Linked DNA regions of Homo sapiens: regions 1 and 2 are each linked to region 3. Evidence: promoter capture Hi-C in 16 types of primary human blood cells and fetal thymus (Javierre and others, 2016). All regions are on one chromosome and are shown on one strand. The core of a region is centred on a gene start or on the middle of the fragment in contact, and the rest is flanking DNA. Distances in the headings are between cores, read along the strand shown. Region 1 has its middle 72 kb from the start of LINC02578. Region 2 has its middle 140 kb from the start of LINC02578. Region 3 holds the start of TLR4 (toll like receptor 4).

What was found. The method cuts DNA at HindIII sites, captures the fragments that hold promoters and counts their contacts. A CHiCAGO score of 5 or more calls a contact.
Region 1: a contact is called between a fragment that was not itself captured here and the fragment with the promoter of TLR4 in region 3, in 1 of 17 cell types (endothelial precursors). The highest score is 5.7, in endothelial precursors.
Region 2: a fragment that was not itself captured here is called in contact with the fragment with the promoter of TLR4 in region 3 in 1 of 17 cell types (endothelial precursors); the score reaches 5.3 in endothelial precursors.

The regions. Positions count from the first base shown.
Region 1 is chr9:118,606,050-118,609,831 of GRCh38, forward strand. No RefSeq gene overlaps it. Among named protein-coding and RNA genes, the nearest start is that of LINC02578, 72 kb to the right of the region's middle. The HindIII fragment of the contact is 1,194 bases long and covers 925-2,118 here.
Region 2 is chr9:118,536,088-118,539,572 of GRCh38, forward strand. No RefSeq gene overlaps it. Among named protein-coding and RNA genes, the nearest start is that of LINC02578, 140 kb to the right of the region's middle. The HindIII fragment of the contact is 4,666 bases long and covers 1-3,485 here.
Region 3 is chr9:117,702,310-117,705,937 of GRCh38, forward strand. TLR4 (toll like receptor 4) reads left to right here and starts at 2,094. Exons shown (of 3, transcript NM_138554.5): 1 at 2,094-2,256. The coding sequence starts at 2,164. RefSeq lists enhancers at 1,516-2,715, 1,663-2,163, 2,064-2,113, 2,124-2,193, 2,164-2,664 and 1 more. The HindIII fragment of the contact is 5,259 bases long and covers 1,235-3,628 here.

The sequences.
Region 1 (3,782 bases), core at 272-2,771, 900 kb after region 3:
TATATATATGTTCAAGCACGTCAAATTGTAGATATCAAACATGTGCAGTATTTTATGTATCAATTGCCCCTCAATAAAGCTATTAAAAACAGAAATAAAAGATGTTTCTAAGAGTATTAGAAAAAATGAAAATTACTGATAATTTGTTTTAATTTAATTTAAATGTTAAACCCCTCCAAAGTATAATGTATTATAAGACTACACTGTAGTCTACTATATAAATATAATTCTGTTATATTATATGTAAGAGCAAAAGGAAAGAATCCAAAATGTTTATGACTGTCTCTGCATATTTTTTCTGTATCTTTCCAGTGTCTTAAAAGCAATTAGTACTTATTAGTTGTATGATGAACAAAAAATACAGATTATCTTAAACTATTTCTGTTCCTCTTTTTAAATTAATATACAATATTTAGACATAAATATATGGAGTACATGTGATATTTTGCTACATACATAGAATGTATAATGATCAAGTCAGAGCATTTAGGATATCCATCACCTCCAACATTTATCATTTCCATGTGCTGGAAACATTTCAAATTCTCTCTTCTAGCTATTTTGAAATATTAGCTCAGGGATGTCTCCTTTAGAGCTAAACTATAATGGAGTAAGGTAGGAAGCCTGTTGGTAGTAGCTTTCCCATCTCTCCAGTCTTGCTTCCCACTGAATTATAAATTCTTCAAATGCAGGAAGAAAAAATCCTCACATTTTCTCTGTACAACAATGGCCCGTTATTATAGTTGGTTTATAATAGGTTCTTAATAAATATTTTGCATTAATTAATGCATAGTGATCCTGAGAATATACTGATGAGTCATCAATTTTTGATAAGAAAATAGTAGTTACTTGATAGTTAAAACAAAAGAAAATAAAACCGGAAAATATTTCATGTCTACTTCATTATTTAAAATTTTAATCAAAAGCTTAATTCATTTTTTAAACATATTTGTTTGCCCTATTTTATGATACAAAAATTGTTGTAATAAATGCAAAAAAAGTATAACCAGTTACCTAACATTTCTCTATCCAATTCTTCCTTACTAAAGTAACCAAAGATAACCATGTACTATATATCTTTCCTCATATTTCTCTTTGATTATACTGACCTATGCAAGCATTTGCAAATATTTAAGAGTTTTGTTTGTTCATTTAAAAAACTTTTATTTTGAAATAATTATAGATTCACAGAAGTTTATTCATAAGAATAGTACAGAGGGGCTCAGTGTACCCTTCACCTGGTTTCTGTCAATAACATCTTACATAATTATAGTATAATATCAAACAGTCATGCAGTCCAGAAAACTTATTCAGTTTTCACCAGCTTTACAGGCACTCATGTGTGTGAGTGTGTAAATTTGGGTAGCTCTATGTAATTTTATAGCATGCATATTCATGTAATTACAACAATAATTGAAATATAGATCTGTCTCATTACCACAACATTCCCTCATGCTACCATTTTATAGTTACATCCATCCCCTCCTCCTTTCCTTCTCCCCTTCTTTAATTTCTGCCAACCATAAATCTGTTACACATCTCTAAAATCTTGTCATTTGTCCGGGTGTGGTGGCTCATGCCTGTAATCCCAGCAATTTGGGAGGTCGAGGTGGATGGATCACTTGAGGTTAAGAGCTCAAGACCAGACTGGTCAACATGGTGAAACCCTGTCTCTACTAAAAATACAAAAATTAGCTGGACATGGTGGGGCATGCTTGTAATCCCAGCTACTAGGGAGGCTGAGGCAGGAGACTCACTTGAACCCAGGAGGCACAGGCTGCAGTGAGTCAAGATCATGCCACCACACTCCAGCCTGGGAGACAATGTGAGACTCTGTCTCAAAAATAAATAAATACATAAAATCTTGTCATTTTAAGAATATTATATAAATTGAATCATACAATACATATGTTTGTTAATTTTTTACCATATATAATTACATTATTTACATTATACTACATCTCTGCATTTTTTTTCTCCACTTAAAAATAAGCTATATGCAACCCCACAGGGAAATGCACATGGTTATAATATGTAACCCACTAATTTTTAATACACATGTAATTACATATATATAATTTATATTATCAGAATTATATTTTACAGCCTTTCTTTTTAAGCTTGGCTTTCTATGTGCTCCTCCTCTCTTATTTTCCCTCCAACCAATTTGATACCAGGCTTTCCCCCCACCCCACTCACAACTAAGTAATCATGACAACACCTTGATATAATTTTATGCATTTTTGCCATATTCAACATATATATGTACATACATATATGTTAGAATAGGTATGATTTATATATAGTATGTGTATATAAAGAAAGAATGCAAAGATGAGCAGTAATGTAAATACTATGTTTCTGTTTGTTAAAAATGAATACTACCATCTTGGTTCATTAAAAAAATAGGGTTGTATTACATACACTTTTAACATCTTGAGTTTTTCAATAATACATTTGGGATATTCTCCAAGTAAATTGTTGTAGCTATAACTGATATTTTACTTGCTTGAAAGAATTCTGCAGTTTGGACATATTCTGTAGTGTAGTGCAATGTTCATCCCCTCTAATACTGAATGGAATTTGCCTTTTTTCCAGTTTTTGACACTTGCAACAATGTTAAAATAAGCGTCCTTATATGAGTGGGTGTGTCTGTGAGTGTGTGTATGTAATTACATATACTTCCTGTGTATATAACATACACACACATATATATCTATATATTTAGAGAGAGAGAGATAATTAGTTTTCTATTGTCACTGTAACAATTTAGCACAAATTTAGTGGCTTAAAAACTTATTCTCTTATAATTCTGGAGATCAGAAGTCCTAAAATGGGTTGGCAGTTCCTTCTGGAAGCTGTAGAAGAGAAATTATTCCCTTGTCTTTTTCATCTTCTAGAAATTGCCTCATTCCTTAGCTGGTAGTCCCTTCCTTACATCACTGCAAACTCTTGCTTTCATAATCACATATCCTATTTTTTAACTCTGGTCCTCTTTGCTCTCTTCTAAAGACCCTTGTGATTCCATTGTGTGCACACAGATAAATTAGGATAACCTCCCCATCTCAAGATCCTTAATTTAATCACGTATACAGGGCCCTTTTTATTATGTAAGGTAACCTATTCACAGGTCTGGACATCAAGTCATGAATATGCTTGGGGGTCAGCTTTTCACACAAATAGATGTTTATGTTTCACTTCCAAAAGATAGATTAACTGGACTGGAAATTCTGAGTTGAATATTATGTTTCACTTCCAAAAGATAGATTAACTGGACTGGAAATTCTGAGTTGAATATTATGGTGGATTCCTTTATTACTCAGCAAATATTAACTCTGTTCCTCCCCATACCTAAGGTTTGAGTGCATTTTCCCATCTCAGTGAATTTGGACTTGTTATAATCAAAGGAATTTGACTTTAAAGCGTAAATTCTGAGCACCCTCTTGAGTTTTGCCCTACCTCGTGAGAACAACAGGGCCTCGATAGTGACTACTTTTTGAGCCTAGTTTCCAGAAAGAAAAACAACCAAAAATAGCAGAGTCATGGTAATCCTCAGACCTAGAAAATAAGTGTTTGCTGTGAGTCACAGTGATTTGAGAGATTCTTTGCTATCACAACAAAAGCTGACTAACACATAGAATATGAATATAATTAGTTTTAGTAGATATTACCAAATTGTTCTCCAAGTCCTATAACAATGCAAATTCATACAAACAATGTATGAGAGTATTTTTTCTTCTGAAACTCTGCTACTCTACTAGAAATTAAAAATGATCTCTTAT
Region 2 (3,485 bases), core at 348-2,847, 830 kb after region 3:
GACTTAGGAGAAAGAAAAATGATAGCGTTGCCTACAGAAGGAGCACAGAGAAGGGAGGGTGAGATCAGTAATGGAGGAAAAGAAATATAAGAAATATGTATCATAACAAGGGGGAAATGTGCTTGGACTGAAGGTTTTTATTTCCCCACATTTTCAAGGGTGGCTGAGGTTTTCTTACAGTGGAACCAGCAGGCTTCTACTGCTTGCAGCCTCCTCAAAATAGATCCCAAGTACCCTGGAGTCCATCTGCAGTGAGAATCAGTTAGAGACACATGACAGCCGTTCCTTGAAATGTGCTCAGTGATTCACACAGCTCACAGTGGCTGTGCAGTAGGGATTATTGACCTGAAAATGACTTTCTCTCCTCCCTTCAATCCCCATTGTCGGCTTGGAAAATTATCTCGGGGCGCATTTTTTTACATTCTCTTCTCTGAAAGCATTATTTCAGTTGTACCCTTTATGCCTAAGGCCTCGTCCTTCCCTAGAGAGGAATTGTGACTCTTGGAAATGGCTGATCATATCACAGAAACTGGGGTATCCTGTAATCTCTGCTGGGCATTTAGCCTTCCAAGATTGTCTGGTATATGTGAGCTCCATCAGTTCTATTTGACTTATTTTTTTGTTTTTCCCTCCCCGGAATGGTTTACTATATTTTCTAACATTATTTAAACATATTTGTTTTCTAAAATTTGCTTAATTGGAAATGGATGCAGATCCATCAAACATGTCCACCTCTCTTTCTATGCATAGATGTTTTTCATGCTTTCCTTTTCCATCCCTACAACCAGTGTCTTTAAACTTCTTTAACAGTTTAACAATCATCTGAAAGCACTTGTTCACTGAAGAGATTACCAGGTCTCTCCTGGTAATTACTAGGTAATTACTAGGTCCCAATCAAGAATTTATACTTCCTACTGATGATGTTAGATTTATTATAATATGAAGCAACTTTAAAAAACACTACTAACACACTCTATAAAGCAGATGGGTTTTTGTGTAATGCATCTGGATCTAAATTAAAGCTCTAGAGTTTGCTAGTTACACAGAATTAGCCAATTCATTAAGATTTCTGTATATTAGTTGATAAATATATAACTACCTAAATCCAGTTCTTAGGTTATATCTTTACTTTTCTTTACTTCACTTATACAAGGAAGACAATGATAATACATGATATTATGTGCTGAATTTTAGTCTACCGGATGTGCTTTGAAATTAAAGCAGGCTGGGTGCAGTGGCTCACGCCTGTAATCCCAGCACTTTGGGAGGCCGAGGCGGGTAGATCACCTGAGGTCAGGAGTTTGAGACGAGCCTGACCAACATGGTGAAACCTCATCTCTACTAAAAAATACAAAAATTAGCTGAGTGTGGTGGCAGGTGCCTGTAAACCTAGCTACTAGGGAGGCTGAGGCAGGAGAATTGCTTGAACCCAGGAGGGTGGGGATCGCAGTGAGCTGAGATCATGCCCACTGAAATCTAGCCTGGGAGACAAAGTGAGACTTTGTCTCAAAAAAAAAAAAAAGAAAGAAAATAAAGCAAAAACAGATTTGTTCTGGCAGAAGTAATCAGAACTTTGCATAACAGAGGAGAATAACATAAAATTACCTGTGAAGAAATATAGACTCTGAGTAGGAAAGTGAGAAAGTGTTAGAGAAGTTTGAGAAGTTAGAGAAGAAAGACATTCTTCAATCTAAACTTTGGAGAACCCTTAGGTTATCCACCCATTGTTGATCTTCAGGTTTAGGCCATGTTCTACTGTTAACTGCTGCGTGGAGTGATGAAATACTTTGGAAGACAGGGTGTGGCCAATGTTCTTCTGAACTTGAAACTAAGATTTTATTTAATTCTATTATATTCCTCATTGTATTAGAGTTCTCTAAAGGGACAGAACTAATAGGTTAGATGCATATATAACGGGGAGTTTATGAAGGAGTATTGACTCATACTATCACAAGGTGAGGTCCCACAATAGGCCGTCTGCAAGCTGAGGAGACAGGAAGCCAGTCCGAGTCTCAATAAAAGTAGGGAAGCCAATAGTGCAGCCTTTAGTCTGTGGTCGAAGGTCCAAGAGTCTCAAAGCTGAAGAACTAGGAGTACAATGTTTGAGGGCAGAAAGCATCCAGCACAGGAGAAAGATGTAGGCCAGGAGACTAAGCCAGTCTAGTCTTTTCACATTCTTCTGCCTCATTTTTATTCTGGACACTCTGGCAGCTCAGCTGATTAGATTGTGCCCACCCAGATTGAGGGTGGGTCTGCCTTTCCCAGTCCACTGACTCAAATGTTAATCTCCTTTGACAGCATCCTCACAGACACATCCAGGAACAATATTTTGCATCCTTCAATTTAATCAAGTTCACACTCAATATTAACCATCACACTTATCTTTTAAGATTCTTTTATTAATTTTATCAAATTTCCATCACCTGCAAGAATTGCCCTTTAAGCCCTTAGTTTTACTACCAACAATATTATCTCCCAGTATTCATGCACATCACTGACCATCACCCTCCACCTGCACGTCATACATGGTTATGTGGCACTGGGACACTTTAAATCACTTATTCTGTTGGAATTTTATGCTTTCAGATGATAGCTATTAAAGCAAATAATTATGTAGTGCCAGTTATGTGACAGGCACTGCTTTGGACATTTTTAAGTAAATTAACCCATTCAATCTTCACATCAACTATTATAATTAACTCTATTTTATAAATGAGGAAACTGAGGCAAAAGCTATGGAGCCAGGAATCCTTGCACTTTACAGCATTGATCATAAGAAAACATAATTAAAGTGAGACTATACACACACACACACACACACACACATATATATATATGAACAAGAATTTATTAATCTAAAGTGCAGATAAGAATAATTTCAACCTAAGTGACTGGGCAATAATTTCTAGACAGTGTATTTGGACAGGAAAATCTCCCTGTTTAAACAATGCCTTGAAAGTTCTCATTCCTGTTTGGCAAAGGGCCTCACCACATGCCATATAATGCTCAAATTATTCAAATATTCAATTATTCTTATATATGACCTCAGAGCTGCCTTACAATTACTCAGCTTTCTTCTTCAGCTTACAGATGAGAAAACTGCCACCTACAGAGGGAAGTCGCTTACTGGTATCGTAGAGCTAAAAGTATACAGGCTTCTAACACCCCTTGTACTCCATACCAGATGATAAGTTACTATCATTTTAGTCATTTTCCATCCACAGAGGTCTAGGCAAGAAGGGATTGGAATTTGCTGGAAAAAACAATAGTGTTCAAATCACAAACCCTGTTCTCATTTCCCTGGAGCATTTCTTTCAAAAACAAAGAAGTAGCAAAGAAAATACTGCAAAGTTAGGAATCTGAGCAATACGTCTGGTACACAGATAAGAAAATATGTGCCAAAGAGTGATTACTGATGAAAAAGTAAAGCCTTATTTTCTCTTCTTTCTTTATTCCTCTCTACATTTCCTTCTTAAAACAGCAAG
Region 3 (3,628 bases), core at 844-3,343:
TCTACTGGTGTGTTGATGGAGTCTACAAGAGTTTGTGCCCAGTCCACCACAAAATGGTCCCTCACAGCTTGGTTTTTGACACGTTGGATTGGAAGTGCTTGGAGGATATTACAGTAGAACTATCTAGGACTTAGCATGCATAATATTCCTGTTTTAAATCAGGTTCTTATTTAACAGAAACTTACATTGCACTTGCTACTTTCCAGACACTGTCCTAAAAGCTTTACAAATGCCAGTTCATTTAATCCCAATACAATACTTTGAGATACATATTATCATCTTCATTCTATCCACATTTTCAATCCTCATCATAGCTCTCATTTATGGAATGTAATGATGATGCTCTAGACTAGACGTTTTACGTAAGTTAGCTTAATTCAGTAATTCAAAACACATGCGATTATCTTCGTTTTAAAGACCAGAAAACTAAAGGTTGGTAGGTTTGTATAATTTGACTACCATTGCGTATCTTTATTTTAATACATTTTATAAATGCAAGCTTCTGCTATGATTAAAAGTGATTACCACATTTTACAGACCAGAAAGTAATAATAAGTGTTGGTGAAGATGTGAAAAAATGAGAACTCCTGTACACCATTTGTGGGAATGTAAAATGGTACAGATGCTGTGGAGAATCATATGGTGGGTGCTCAAAAAATTAAAAATAGATTTACCACATGATCCAGCAATCTCACTTCTGAGTACGTATCCAAAAGAATTGAAAACAGAGACTTTAAGAGATATTTGTACAACCATGTTTATGGCAGCATTATTCACAATAGCTAACGTGTGGCAACAATGCAAGTGTCCATGAACAGACAAATGGATAAGCAAAATGTGGTCTATACATACAATGGAATATTGTTCAGCTTTAAAAAGGAAGGAGGCTTTGATCTATACTACACAGAAAAGAACCTTGAGGACATTATGCAAAGTGAAATAAGCCAGTGACAAAAAGATACATACTGTATGATTCCACTTCTAAGAGCTGCCTAGAGTAGTCAAGATTATAGAGACAAAAGTAGTGCATAGATTCAAGGGCCTAGGGAAAGGGGAAATGGGGAGTTATTTATTAATGAATAGTGGTGATGATTGTACAAAAATATGAACATAATTAATGCCACTAAATTGTACACATACAAATGGTCAAGATAATAAATTTTATGTTATGTCATGTTATGTTATGTGATTTTACCATAATACAGAAAATGAAAAAAGAAAAGAAAGAAAGTAAAGCTTAGCGGTTTACATGACTTGACCAATGCCTCAAAGCCATGAGTCACCCAGCTGAGATCTGAACTTCAGTATATTCCATTCTGAAATCCCAGACTTTTCCCAATCTTCTTGTACTTTTCAAACTGTGTTTCAGTTGAGGTTTATTTTCAGTTTTGTATGTGAGTTTCTTCACAAGAAGGGGCGGGCCAAATTGTGTCCTGCAAAAACCTACATATCGAAGTCCTAACCCCTCTACCTCAGACTATGACTGTATATGGAGAGAGAGCCTTGAAAGAGGTATGTAAGGTAGAATGAGGTCATTATGGTGGGCCCTAATCCAACATAACTGGTGTCCTTATAAGAAGGGGAGATTAGAATTCAGACACACTTGCTGACACCTTGAGTTCAGACTGGAAGCCTCTAGAATTGTGAGAAAATGAATGTCTGTTGTTTAAGCCACCCAGTCTGTGGTATTTCCTTATGGCAGCCCCAGCAAACTAATACAAATAGTGTTTCCACAGCTGAAACAAAATTGGAAAATCACCGTCATCCTAGAGAGTTACAAGGGCTATTTTAATAGAACCTGATTGTTTTCCTAAATTCACCAAGCCCAGGCAGAGGTCAGATGACTAATTGGGATAAAAGCCAACTAGCTTCCTCTTGCTGTTTCTTTAGCCACTGGTCTGCAGGCGTTTTCTTCTTCTAACTTCCTCTCCTGTGACAAAAGAGATAACTATTAGAGAAACAAAAGTCCAGAATGCTAAGGTTGCCGCTTTCACTTCCTCTCACCCTTTAGCCCAGAACTGCTTTGAATACACCAATTGCTGTGGGGCGGCTCGAGGAAGAGAAGACACCAGTGCCTCAGAAACTGCTCGGTCAGACGGTGATAGCGAGCCACGCATTCACAGGGCCACTGCTGCTCACAGAAGCAGTGAGGATGATGCCAGGATGATGTCTGCCTCGCGCCTGGCTGGGACTCTGATCCCAGCCATGGCCTTCCTCTCCTGCGTGAGACCAGAAAGCTGGGAGCCCTGCGTGGAGGTATGTGGCTGGAGTCAGCTCCTCTGAACTTTCCCTCACTTCTGCCCAGAACTTCTCACTGTGTGCCCTGGTTTGTTTATTTTTGCAAAAAAAAAAAAGAGTTAAATTACCTTAAAGACTCAAGAAGCCACAGAGATCAAATAATTCATTGTTACAGGGCACTAGAGGCAGCCATTGGGGGTTTGTTCCATTTGGAAATTTTGAGTGCTAACAGGGGCATGAGATAACATAGATCTGCTTAAGGTCCCTGCTCTGCTACCTTGTGGCTCTGTGAAGAAATTATCAAACCTGTCTGAGACTAGTTTTCGCATCTGTAAGAGAATTATAATACCTTCTTCACTAGAGAGTAAGCAGACTGCTTCAGTGTCATTTCTTCCCACTGGTGGTCTTTACACTCAGCTTCAAGCAGTCACCCTGCTCCTTTCAATCTCAGGAAAAAGATGGCTTTTGTGTGTGTGTCTCTAGAGAAAGAACTTTCTAAGTGGGTGTCAGACTTCTGTATGCAGTAATATAGTTTAGTCCAGAGGATGAAAAAAATAAGAGAATGAAAAAGGAAAAGAGAGAGAGAGAGAAGAAAAAAGCAAGAGGGAAATATGTATAATGTCAGCTAATGCAACAGTTTCTTTCTTAGTGAAATACCAATCAGCTGGTTGGTAATCTTATTCATGATGGATCTCTTTTGTTTTTCCCCTGCGCAGACTTCACAGTTGCTTTAGAAACCCATAGTAGAGCCGAACAGCTAAGAAAATGATTTACAGTGAGGCAGGGTCAGAAACTCAAGAGAGAAAAAGCCAGCTGCAGTCCTGAAGTTGAGGATATAGGAGAAAATCAAGTAATATTTAGCAAAGACTAATTCATTATCTTGAAGCCATCCCTTCCCTCAATTCCCTGCCCATAGTCCTCCTCCTTGTCCTCTTCTCTGTATCCCTCTGCTGTTAGGTTAATGGAGATAGATTTTCTAATTAGGCTCACTGCGAGATAAAACCACAGCCAAACTTGACTTCTTTTCCCCATGTACCTTTTCCTGTCAGTCCCTGAAGCCTGTCCATCCCTGCCCATCCCCTTAGTTCCACTGTAAGGCAGGCCCTCATTTCCCCTGGCATTGACTCTTACACACTAACTGCTTTCCTGATTCCAGTCTTCTTCCTTTAATTCATTCTGCACGTTCTTGTTTGTTATGTACTTGCATTTGTTGTTATTATTTTTCCTTAGGCTTCAATCTAACAAATTACTCTCCTTAAAAACTTTTAATAACTCTCCATTGCCATTAGAACAGCTTTCTACCACAGGGCCTTTGCACTGGCTATTTCTTCTACCTAGAATGCTAGATCAGTGCTATCCATTGGCAATATTATGTGAGCCACATATGTAC